2 separate regions of the Homo sapiens genome follow, and region 1 is linked to region 2. Evidence: promoter capture Hi-C in human tissues and cell types (Jung and others, 2019). All regions are on one chromosome and are shown on one strand. The core of a region is centred on a gene start or on the middle of the fragment in contact, and the rest is flanking DNA. Distances in the headings are between cores, read along the strand shown. Region 1 overlaps ME3 (malic enzyme 3). Region 2 holds the start of ME3 (malic enzyme 3).

Region 1 (5,283 bases), core at 1,930-4,429, 150 kb before region 2:
CAAACAAAAAACCCCAAAAAACCTTGCAATGGGGTATAACAGAAACATTATTTGAAGACCAACGAGAATTAGAGAACAAGCGGGCCCAGAATGGCTAATTCACAGAGTGCTAGAGAGCTGCAGAGCTGGGCCTGGAGTCCCTTCTAGGGCCCCTTGGCCCTGCCCTTTCTCTGCCTCCCTCTTGTTCCTGCAGGATGATTTTCCTCCAGTAGACTTGAAGCTCAGAAGGGCAGGAACTGTATCCTCCACTTCCACTGATTGCATGGGTCCCCTAATGCAGCCCTGCAAACATAGTGTTTACTTCAGAAAGGGATTTCTGCATAGATGGTCTATTCCTTTCTCTGAATGTGAGAATGGAGCATTTAGAACAAGGGCAATGTAAGTTTTTCTACGACTATATCTAACTATGTGAGTTTGGGAAAGTTACCAGACCTCTCTGAGCCTGTTCCTCAGTCGGTAAGATGAAGAAGGTAGAACAGATAACTTCCAAAACTCTAGAGTTCCATGACTCTAATCTACCAAGGCACGCAGTTATCTGTGACTCGGAGCTAGACAGACCTGGGTTCAAAGCCCAAATCCAACCCTTATTTATTGTGCAACTTTGGCATATTATTTAACTCCACCGAATCTCCATTGCTTATTATTAAAATGTAGCTGTGGCCGGGTGTAGTGGCTCACGCCTGTAATCCCAGCACTTTGGGAGGCCGAGGCGGGCGGATCACGCACGAGGTCAGGAGATTGAGACCATCCTGGCTAACACGGTGAAACACTGTCTCCACTAAAAACTACAAAACAATTAGCCGGGCGTGATGGCGGGCGCCTGTAGTCCCAGCTACTTCAGAGGCTGAGGCAGGAGAATGGCGTGAACCCAGGAGGCGGAGCTTGCAGTGAGCCGAGACTGCGCCACTGCACTCCAGCCTGGGCGACAGAGCGAGACTCCATCTCAAAAACAAACAAACAAAACAAAACAAAACAAAACAAAAATAATAATAATAATAATAATAAAAAAATGGAGCTGTAATCATTAAATCTATCTCACTAAGCTGGTGTGAGCATTAAATAAAATAATACATGTACAAAGTCAGTCGTAAAGGAGCCTCTCTTTAAATTTTCAGGTGGAATTTAAGAAATGTTTGTCAAAGGTATGAATGTCACTGCCTCTCCAAGAGACACAGAATTTCATGCTATGGTTCATGGACAGGGCAACCACATACTTTAGTTTCCCTGTGTCTTGACACAATTATTAACACAATTATTTATTTTTCTTTTCACTCTCAAAAACTCACTGATCTGTAGATCCAGTCTACTAATTTCAAAACTACATTTTCTAGGTGTCTACTATAGAAAGTCAAGCTCATTCTCTTAGCATTATTTTGAGTCCTTTCCCTGTGTAGTCATTAATTAAAATCCTGGTAATAACACAAAGCCTCTGTGAAGTGGCTTACAGTTGGCCATCCATATCCACAGGTTCTACATCTTGGATTCAACCTACTGTGGATTGAAAATACTAGGAAAAAAGGCCGGGCATGGTGACTCATACCTGTAATCCCAGTACTTTGGGAGGCCGAAGTTGGTAGATCACCTAAGGTCAGGAGTTTGAGACAAGCCTGGCCAACATGGCAAAACCCCATCTCTACTAAAAATACAAAAATTAGCTGGGTGTGGTGGCACGCACCTGTAGTCCCAGCTACTCAGGAGGCTGAGGTAGGAGAATTGCTTGAACTCGGGAGGCAGAGGTTGCAGTGAGCCAAGACTGCGTCATTGCACTCCAGCCTGGGTGACAGAACAAGACTCTGTCTCAAACAAACAAACAAACAAACAAACAAAAAACCAGATTAAGAAAAAAAGGCCAATTAAAAAAATGGTAAAAAATAACACAAATTAAAAATGTAGTGTAATGACTATTTTTTTCTTTTTTTTTTTTTTACATTAGGTTCTAGGATATATGTGCAGAATGTATTGTTACATAGGTATACATGTGCCATGGTGGTTTGCTGCACCTGTCAACCTGTCATCTAGGTTTTAAGCCCCACATGCATTAGGTATTTGTCCTAATGCTATCCCTTCCCTTACCCCGCCCCCTCCTTGACCCGCCGACAGGCCCCAGTGTATGTTATTCCCCTCCCTGTGTCTGTGTGTTTTCACTGTTCAACTCCCACATGTGAGCGAGAACATGTGGAGTTTGGTTTTCTGTTTCTGTGTTAGTTTGCTGAGAATGATGGCTTCCAGCTTCATCCATATCCCTGCAAAGGACACAATCTCATTCTTTTTTATGGCTGCATAGTATTCCATGGTGTATATGTGCCACATTTTCTTTATCCAGTCTATCACTGATGGGCATTTGGGTTGGTTCCAAGTCTTGTAACAACTATTTACGTAGAATTTACATTGTATTAGATATAGTAAGTAATCTAGAGATGATTTAAAGTATATTGTAGGATATGTATGTTATATGCAAATACTATACCATTTTATATCAGGGATTTGAGCATCCATGGATTTTGGTATCCGGGGGGAAGGGGGTCTGGGAGGTTGATTATATATCACCCACAGTCTTTTGCCCTTCATGACTTTTTGGTAGTCTTCAATTCACTCTTTGCCAAACTCTATGGAGGGAGACTTAAAGGTGTTAAACCAGCAAACCTCAGTCCTACTGTTGGCTCCTTGAAGACCTGATCTTTGGACTGAGGCAAGTCATGTCATTATTGCCTTAGTTGCCATATGTAAAAAGTAAGAAAGAAGAAAAAAAGAAGCCAACATTTATTTAGCTCCCATTGGGAACATTTTATAAATGCTATGCCATTTACTTACTGCCACAAGTCTGGGAGGTATATGTTGTTGTCCTCATTTACACCTGAGATTAACGAAGCTCAATAAAATGAGGTAATATCACTGAGGTAAGTTGGCAAAGTAGTAAGGGAAAGCAGGTAAGAAACCATTGTGCCTTCTTGCCTTTCTTGTTGGAGTTTCAGGTGATGATTGTAAAACACTAAGCCCTATAGAAGACAGGCTTCTATTAACACAGAGAAAAACTGAAATAGGTTTCTAATTGTTTGTACTCTTTTTTTTCTTCCTGGAATTTGCAAATCTCAGATATTGCTCTATCCTCTTTTTTGATTATGAGATTTTATTTTTGGCAGAAAATAATTGTTCCAGTTGAGTTCCAAGAGTTGAAAGAGTTTCTCCATCTGTTCTTCTTGAATAAGAAGAATGCTGATAAGGTGTGCAAATAGCTGAAGAAGTATACATGCAATTTTCACTAAAAATCGTGAGTACATGGAAAAGCTGATGAAGAAGGCCTTGAACCTCCATCACATCATTAGCTGACTGAACATTTTATAATCAGGAGGGGGAAAAAAGGCGGAATAGAAGGAAATTTCAGCTGAAATTGACACCTCTGTCCAAATAGAATATCACTTCAGAATCTAAAAATTCTAATTCCACAAGTCACAGATGTTTCCAATTAGAACAGAGAAAGTTAATGTAGTTTCAGCTGTTACTTAGAATATTAAAATGTGCCAAGAAACTCAGAGAGAGTTGGTACAAAGAAGTTTCTTTTTCTACTAAAATATTTACTCCTTCAGAAATAATAATCAGAGGCTTTAGGCCCCTTTCCCTGAAAAGTCACACTTAACACTCTTCACTTTCTTTTATGGCTGTGAACATGGCACAGACCCACACATGCCTCCACTTTATAAAACAAACACCTTCCTGACGTCTAGAAGGCCTCTAGTGAATCTGGGTCTCTGGGCAGTAAGTTGTTTGGAATGTGTCTCTGTTCTAATACAAACATTTGATATCCAAAGCAAATAATCATCAAACCTGCGATTCTGAAATTACTGTCCCCCTGACTCAGAGGCGCAGCCAATGAGTCATTTATTTACATGTAACTACAAGATAAGGAGAGAAAAACATCCTATCTGCTTGTTTTTCCAAAGCAGGTTTGAGAAGTAGTCACACATTTTTTTCCACTGAATCATAAATCTGCAGCCTCAGTTTAAGAAATAGGCTAGGAGCTCAGAACCCTGTGAAGATACACCAAGATAATAGTCCCCTAAACCAAGAAAAAGCTGAAATTGTAAAAGCTCGAATCCATTTTATGCTAGCATTTATGAGGCAGTTCTATGGGCAGGCATCTGAGTCCTATCCTGAAGTAATTTGTAAGTGGAAGACCCCACCCACTTTAATTTACCAGATAAACATTTCTGGAGCTATCATTGCATATTAGTTATGAAAGCTGGAATTTAATAAGAGAGAACAGAATGCAGTTTTCAAAGTGCACAGAAGTTCACTGGGAAAACATATGCTTAAACTTCAGGGACCATGATCCCTGGAAGCAAATGTAAGAGACAGCTAAGTGCCTGGAATTATATGTCTGAAAGGATTACTCATCAGATGCAATTAAGCAGGGGGAAGGGGAGAAGCACACATTTGATCTAATGTGTTGTTTTGACTAAGTTCCGCCTCCAAACTACAAATCCCTCGAAAGGAAGGAATCTCAGAACATTCAAGATCAGGAAAGTTAAAGGCCAAAAAAGTATTTGCTTTGAAATGATTGAGAAAAGATGTGTGTGTCTCTGGTCAGGGATAAGTTCCAGTGAGACCCACTCCAACTTGCAAAACATTGATATTATTGGGAAGCTTCAGAGCAGACAGTCAGACAGACTTAGACCCAAATTCTAGGTCATCTGGTTAGTAGTGACCTTGACAAATGACTACAGTTGAGCCTCAGTTTTCTCATCTGTAAAATAGGGGCAATGAAATGTTTCCAATAGAGCAGTGACAATTAAAGATAATATATGAAAAGTAGTGAGCACAATGCCTGATACATTTCTATTCAAATACCTAATTCTTTGAAGAAAAGTTTCTAACAGAAACTTTTGATGTTGACAGAAAACAGTCAAACCACAACAGCAAGAGAGGAAGAAAGGAACAGAGGATCCACAAAATAACCAGGAAACCATTAAAAAAATGGCAGTAGTGAGTCCTTACTTATCAATAATTACTTTGAATGTAAATGAATTAATTCTCCTATCAAAAGGCTAACGTGGCTGAATGGTTTAAAAAAAAAAAAAAAGACCCACTATATTTTGCCTACAAAAGATTCAGTTCACCTTTAAGAACACACAGAGGCCGGGTGCAGTGGCTCACGCCTGTAGTCCCAGCACTCTGGGAGGCCAAGGTGGGTGGATCACCTGAGGTCAGGAGTTCAAGACCAGCCTGACCAACATGGTGAACCCCATCTCTACTAAAATACAAAAATTAGCCGTGTGTGGTGGCAGG
Region 2 (5,048 bases), core at 460-2,959:
GAAAGTTGGGCCTCAGATAAGTTAAATGAGATATGTGAGTTAATTTGAGGAGGTAGGGGGAGACAGGACTAAATCTGTCCTTGCTTCTATTTCTCTCACCCAATCCTCTGAACCAAAGATACTAAACTCTATTCCCAAAAACAAATACAAAAGAGCTAGCGGTGGGTTGAACTCGACCAAAGCATTGGAGATCTGGATTCCAGTGGCAGAGCCAGAACTAACTAGCTGGTGACCTTGGGCAAGTTTCCTTTGTCTTGTTTTTTGTAAAAGAAGAGGTTTAAACTAGGATCTCTAATGCTCCTGCAAGCTCGAAAATTTCTATAAGTCTAGACTTTTCCATCCTTGCTCTCAAATTAATCTTTTTCTCAGAATAATAATCATAACCTTATTTATTCTCCCACTGGGTACCAGGCACTGTTCTAACGTACCCCCATTTTCTACCCGCATTTTCTCTTTAGATCTCACGACATTCCTAAGACAATTATATCTCTTTTACAGATAAGGAAACCTAGGCTCATGTAGGTTAAATGAACTGCCCAAGACCAATAAAATTAGTAAGCATCAAGGGGAGAGCTGACCGCAGGTCAGACTGACCGCGAGGATCTAAACCTGGTCTGTGTTGTTACTGCAGAAGAAATTAGGCTCCCTGCATTACTGGTCGCCTCTCTCCACGCATAAAAGGGAGAGGAGGGACAAGAAAGCCAAACCAAGTCACAACAAGCCCCTGCAAGGCAAAAACAGAAAAACCGCTGGAAGGGCGCCCGGGAGGATCCTTTCTGGGTCCAGGGGGCGGGGCGCAATTTTCCGGCAGCCACGGGATCGCAACGCGGGCCGTCCTGCCCTCTGGCCCATTACCTTGTTGAGATGAGGGTTCCTGGTGACATCGTATCCGCGCTTCTTCAGGGGCACAGGGCGCGCCGGGCCAGGCTTGGAGTGGCAGCCTTGGGCGGGCGCGGTGGGTGTCCAGCGCGGGAGGGCGCCGCAGGCCCGGCCCGGCCAGGGAGCCAGCCGCGTGCCTGTCCCCAGCGCGGCACCCATGGTCCTTGGCAGACCTGGCACGGGAGAGAAAGCAAGGTCAGGGCCTCCTTCCAGCCAGCCAGGACCCACGCGCGCTGCGGGGCACCGGGCCTGATCCGGGGACGCGCCCTCTGGGAGAGGGCAGGTGCTCCCAAAGGGTTAAATGTTCCAGCCCCCGCCACTCCTCGGCTGCCACCTGCTCGGCTCCGCGCGGGGCGCCAGGCCTAGCCAAGAGCCAGGCAAAGCGAAACCAAGCCCTGGAAGCAGATCCGGTGCGGGTGACAGCCGGCGCCACCCCTGCCCCCATCCCTGTGAAAAAGAGGCGACTGCGCGGCGAGGGGTCCCCGTACCCCTAATCCCGCGTGGTGGCTTGCCTCGGTCCTCTCCTTCCCTGGCCCACCTGCGCTGCTCGGGGAGCTGAGGTCTACGCGGTCCCGCTGCGGAGCAGGCGGGGTGAGGAGCTGCGGTCTGTGAGTCCTCTCCCGCCAATGGGTGGACCGCGCTGGCGGCCGCGAGCTCGCGGAGCTGGTGAGTTCCTCAAAGAGCGGTCCCACAACCTTTGTTCTCAGTGCCTGGCTTCCCCTGAGGACGCGCGTGGGGCGCCTCAGCACTGCGTGCACGTGGTTTTCCCCAGTGACAAGAAGCAGCTCAGAATGCCCGCCTGAGACTCTCCATCTTGGCAAGACTAAATGCACAGAGGGGGATTTGCGTTTGGGGGTCAGCATATCCTCGCACTCTCCCAACATTCGGGGAAGGGCGTGCCTTCAGGATTTGGAGTAGAAATCCTCAGGCATTCGGTGCTCAGTGTTGCCTTGTGCTGTCCAATATAATAGCCATTCGCCACGTGTGGCTATATAAACGTAAATAAATTAGTCTATATAGAATAAAATTTAACATCCAGTTCTGCAGTCACGCTAGCCACATTTCCAGTTCAAGAGCCACTTGTATGCAGATACAGAACATTTCTGTTTTTGCGGATACTTCTATTAAGCATCATTGACATAGGAGCCACAGTTACTAAGAGGACTTCTGAGGACCCCATGGAGTTTGCCATGGGTTATTGGGGCCAGACAGGGATCTTGGGGTCCATCTAGCCCCAAACTTAATTTTATACTTTCTCCACACAGTAGTCAGGAGATTCCTTTTAAAGCAAACACTTTGTTGTGTGTGGAATAAAATCCAAACTTTCAGGGCCTACAAGATTTCCCATAAACTGGCTCTTGCCAGCCTCTTCAGACTTATCCTACTCTACTCTTTCCTTCTCACTGATCTCTGGCCATACTTGATCCTTCCTGTGTCTTCACCCCACTTGGTTCCCTCCCACTGCAGGGCCTTTGCACTTGCTATTGCCTCTCCTTGGAAGGCTCATACTCCAGCCTTGCAAACCACTACTTCATTCCCACCTCTCAGTTCTCCACTAAGTTGTCAACTCGAAGGCCTTTCCTCTATCCCATTCAATGTCAGCCTGCACTAGGAACTATAGAGTGAAGGGGTTTTTCTCTTTAGAGAACTTAACACAGTCAGTAGCGCGCTTGTTTTTCTGATTGTTTACTGACTATCTCCTGTCTAGAATGTAAGCTTCATGAAGAGAGGCTCTTTGCCTGTGAACCTGTGTGTCCTCACTGCCTAGCTCACTGCCTGGTATGTAGTTGCACAATAAATAGTTGTTAGGTGAAGGGAAGTGGCAGCCACTTTCATAAGGATCGTGAACCCTTAGACTTACTGACAGACAGTTGGCACGGTCCTCTGCTGACACCCCTTCAAAGCTCCCGGTGCCAGCATTAGCCCCGTTGTAAGTACCAAGCAGACATCATGGCCCATAATGTGCTAAGGGGTGCTCCTGCCTGAGTTCAGGATTCCCTCATCCCTTCAGGAATAATCGTCTCCTCCTGCAGTCTCTCTCCTCCCTGTGTAATATCTAATTTTCAACTTGAATGATCTACGTAAAATAGTTATTTCCAAAACAGAATTACAATTACCTGGTAGGAAATAAGGATGGGGCAAAAATACAGCTTTCCAGGCCCCATCCATGAAGATTCTCATCCAGTAGGGTTTACATCCCTGAAGTCAGGTTTACTCTTGGACTGCATATTTACATAAGCTTATAAATGATCTTTTTTTCTGCCTTAAACCAGTTTGTGTCAGATGTGTGATTGTGTGCAACCAATAGTATTAACTAAATCCTTTCAACACTATTTTTATATTGGCACTTCTTCCCACCAGTCAACATCTTTGGGGGGCAGAGATCATGTGTGTTTCCATCTTTGGTATCTAGTGCATGCAAATATTTGGAAATTGATTGTTGAACCAGTTTGCCCTTGCTGAATACAATGACCTTTCCCTCCCCTGGAGGATATCTAATAGGTAACTTTAGTCATTTGAAACCAGGATGTAAACAACAAAGGTTTCCAAACAAGCGAACATAATTTTTATAGCATCAATTCACTAAAGCTTGTACAGTTTACATATAAAAGTCTCTTACATGTCCTCACCTGTGGCCTATATTCTCTTAACCCAGGCATAATTCTACAATGTTGTTTTGTGTGTGTGTTTGTTCTTTGGTGACAGGAAAGAAAAGGTTAAAGGCAGGTCCACCAGGAGCAGTGACAGAAGGCAGTAGCAAGAGGAGGTGGTGGCTTCTCAGTTCCATACAGTTGTCCAGGGACCCAGGTTTTCTCTTTTGCTGCCAGGCTCTTCTGTAGCTGTTGCCCGCCTCTACACAGCGCTAACACCATGTTAGCATCCCAGCCGTGGAAAGCGGGAACAAGGAAACAGAGGGAAAGCAAATCGATTTGTTTTTTTAATTGGGACAGGGTCTCACTGTGTTGTTTAGGCTGTTCTTGAACTCCTGGGCTCAAGCAATCCTCCTGCCTCGGCCTCCCAAAGTGCTGGGATTACAGGCGTGAACCTCTATGCCCAGCCAAAGCAAATCTGTTCTGTGGAAGTGACATGAAAGTTGTATATATTACTTCTACTCACATTCCATTGGTAAAAACTAAGTCACACATTCATATCAAGCTACAGGGAGGGCTGGAAAATATTGTTTGTAGTAGGAAAGGCATGTATGTGCTCTACTGAAGTTCAGTGGGGAGTCTATTACTAAAAGGAAGAAGGGGAGAATGGTTCCTAGGGACCACTAACTAGAAGTCTAAATATAATACTCATTTTCTGTTGAAGTGCTTAGCCCGTAGTGGGTGATCAGAAACTGTGAGCTGTTTTTATTGGCACGTGTGGTTTCCATTTCTGCTTTTGTGGCAACTTCCTTACTTTTAGAGCTGAATATAGGATTTCAGAGACCAGGTTCAGAACCATGGAAACATTACAGATCTTCTTCCAACTCCATACAACTCTGACTTCCTTAGCCAGCCAGGAAGTTGGCTTGTGATCTGGTGATCTGGTCCAGCACTATATAGAACTAATGGGTCTCCATAATTTGTCTTGGCCCCTCTCCTTTCATATCCCATTTACTGACTTCTGCCATCATTGTAATGATGCTTCTTGGGATGGCAGAGAAGGAATCTCATTCCATCTCCTCCAGCCAACAGTTCCATATTCCAGGTATAGTTAATACTTTTGCTTTTCCATTTTGATTACAGAGATTTAAATATCTACCTGTTTCCCTACTAGATTGTGAATTCCTTGATGACTACAACCACCATTTATAATTCTTTGCATCTCTATACCTGGGAAAGTGCCTGGCACTTAGAATTAACTCAGTTTCTTGAATTAAATATAATTGTGGTTCAAATTTGTGCATAACCTTCCAAGGAGTGGAATTAATTGAAACTAAATTTGGTACATTGTTAAAAGGGCACAAAATGGCTTCAAGTCAGATTTTTAACTCAGTCAGCTATCTTAAAACAAGATCTCTTATCTTCTGAAAGCAGATGTTAATGACCTTACACATGGATTTTAAAAAGGAGGTGAATATAAAATTCATTATTTTTCAGTTAATCCCATTGCTTCACAAACTTATTCGTAATATTCTGCACAACATTTAATGTTCATGATTGCCCCAAAGAACTCTTTAA

The links. The method cuts DNA at HindIII sites, captures the fragments that hold promoters and counts their contacts. A contact is called where the count stands out against the background at its distance.
Region 1: a contact is called between a fragment that was not itself captured here and the fragment with the promoter of ME3 in region 2, in 2 of the 25 tissues and cell types used here (IMR-90 fibroblasts and aorta).

The regions. Positions count from the first base shown.
Region 1 is chr11:86,520,450-86,525,732 of GRCh38, forward strand. All of the region lies in intron 4 of ME3 (malic enzyme 3), which reads right to left. Among named protein-coding and RNA genes, the nearest start is that of CCDC81, 150 kb to the left of the region's middle. RefSeq lists an enhancer at 3,034-4,233. The HindIII fragment of the contact is 7,481 bases long and covers 1-5,283 here.
Region 2 is chr11:86,670,907-86,675,954 of GRCh38, forward strand. ME3 (malic enzyme 3) reads right to left here and starts at 1,710. Exons shown (of 15, transcript NM_001161586.3): 1 at 1,418-1,710; 2 at 856-1,052. The coding sequence starts at 1,038. RefSeq lists a silencer at 4,081-4,375. The HindIII fragment of the contact is 8,709 bases long and covers 1-2,856 here.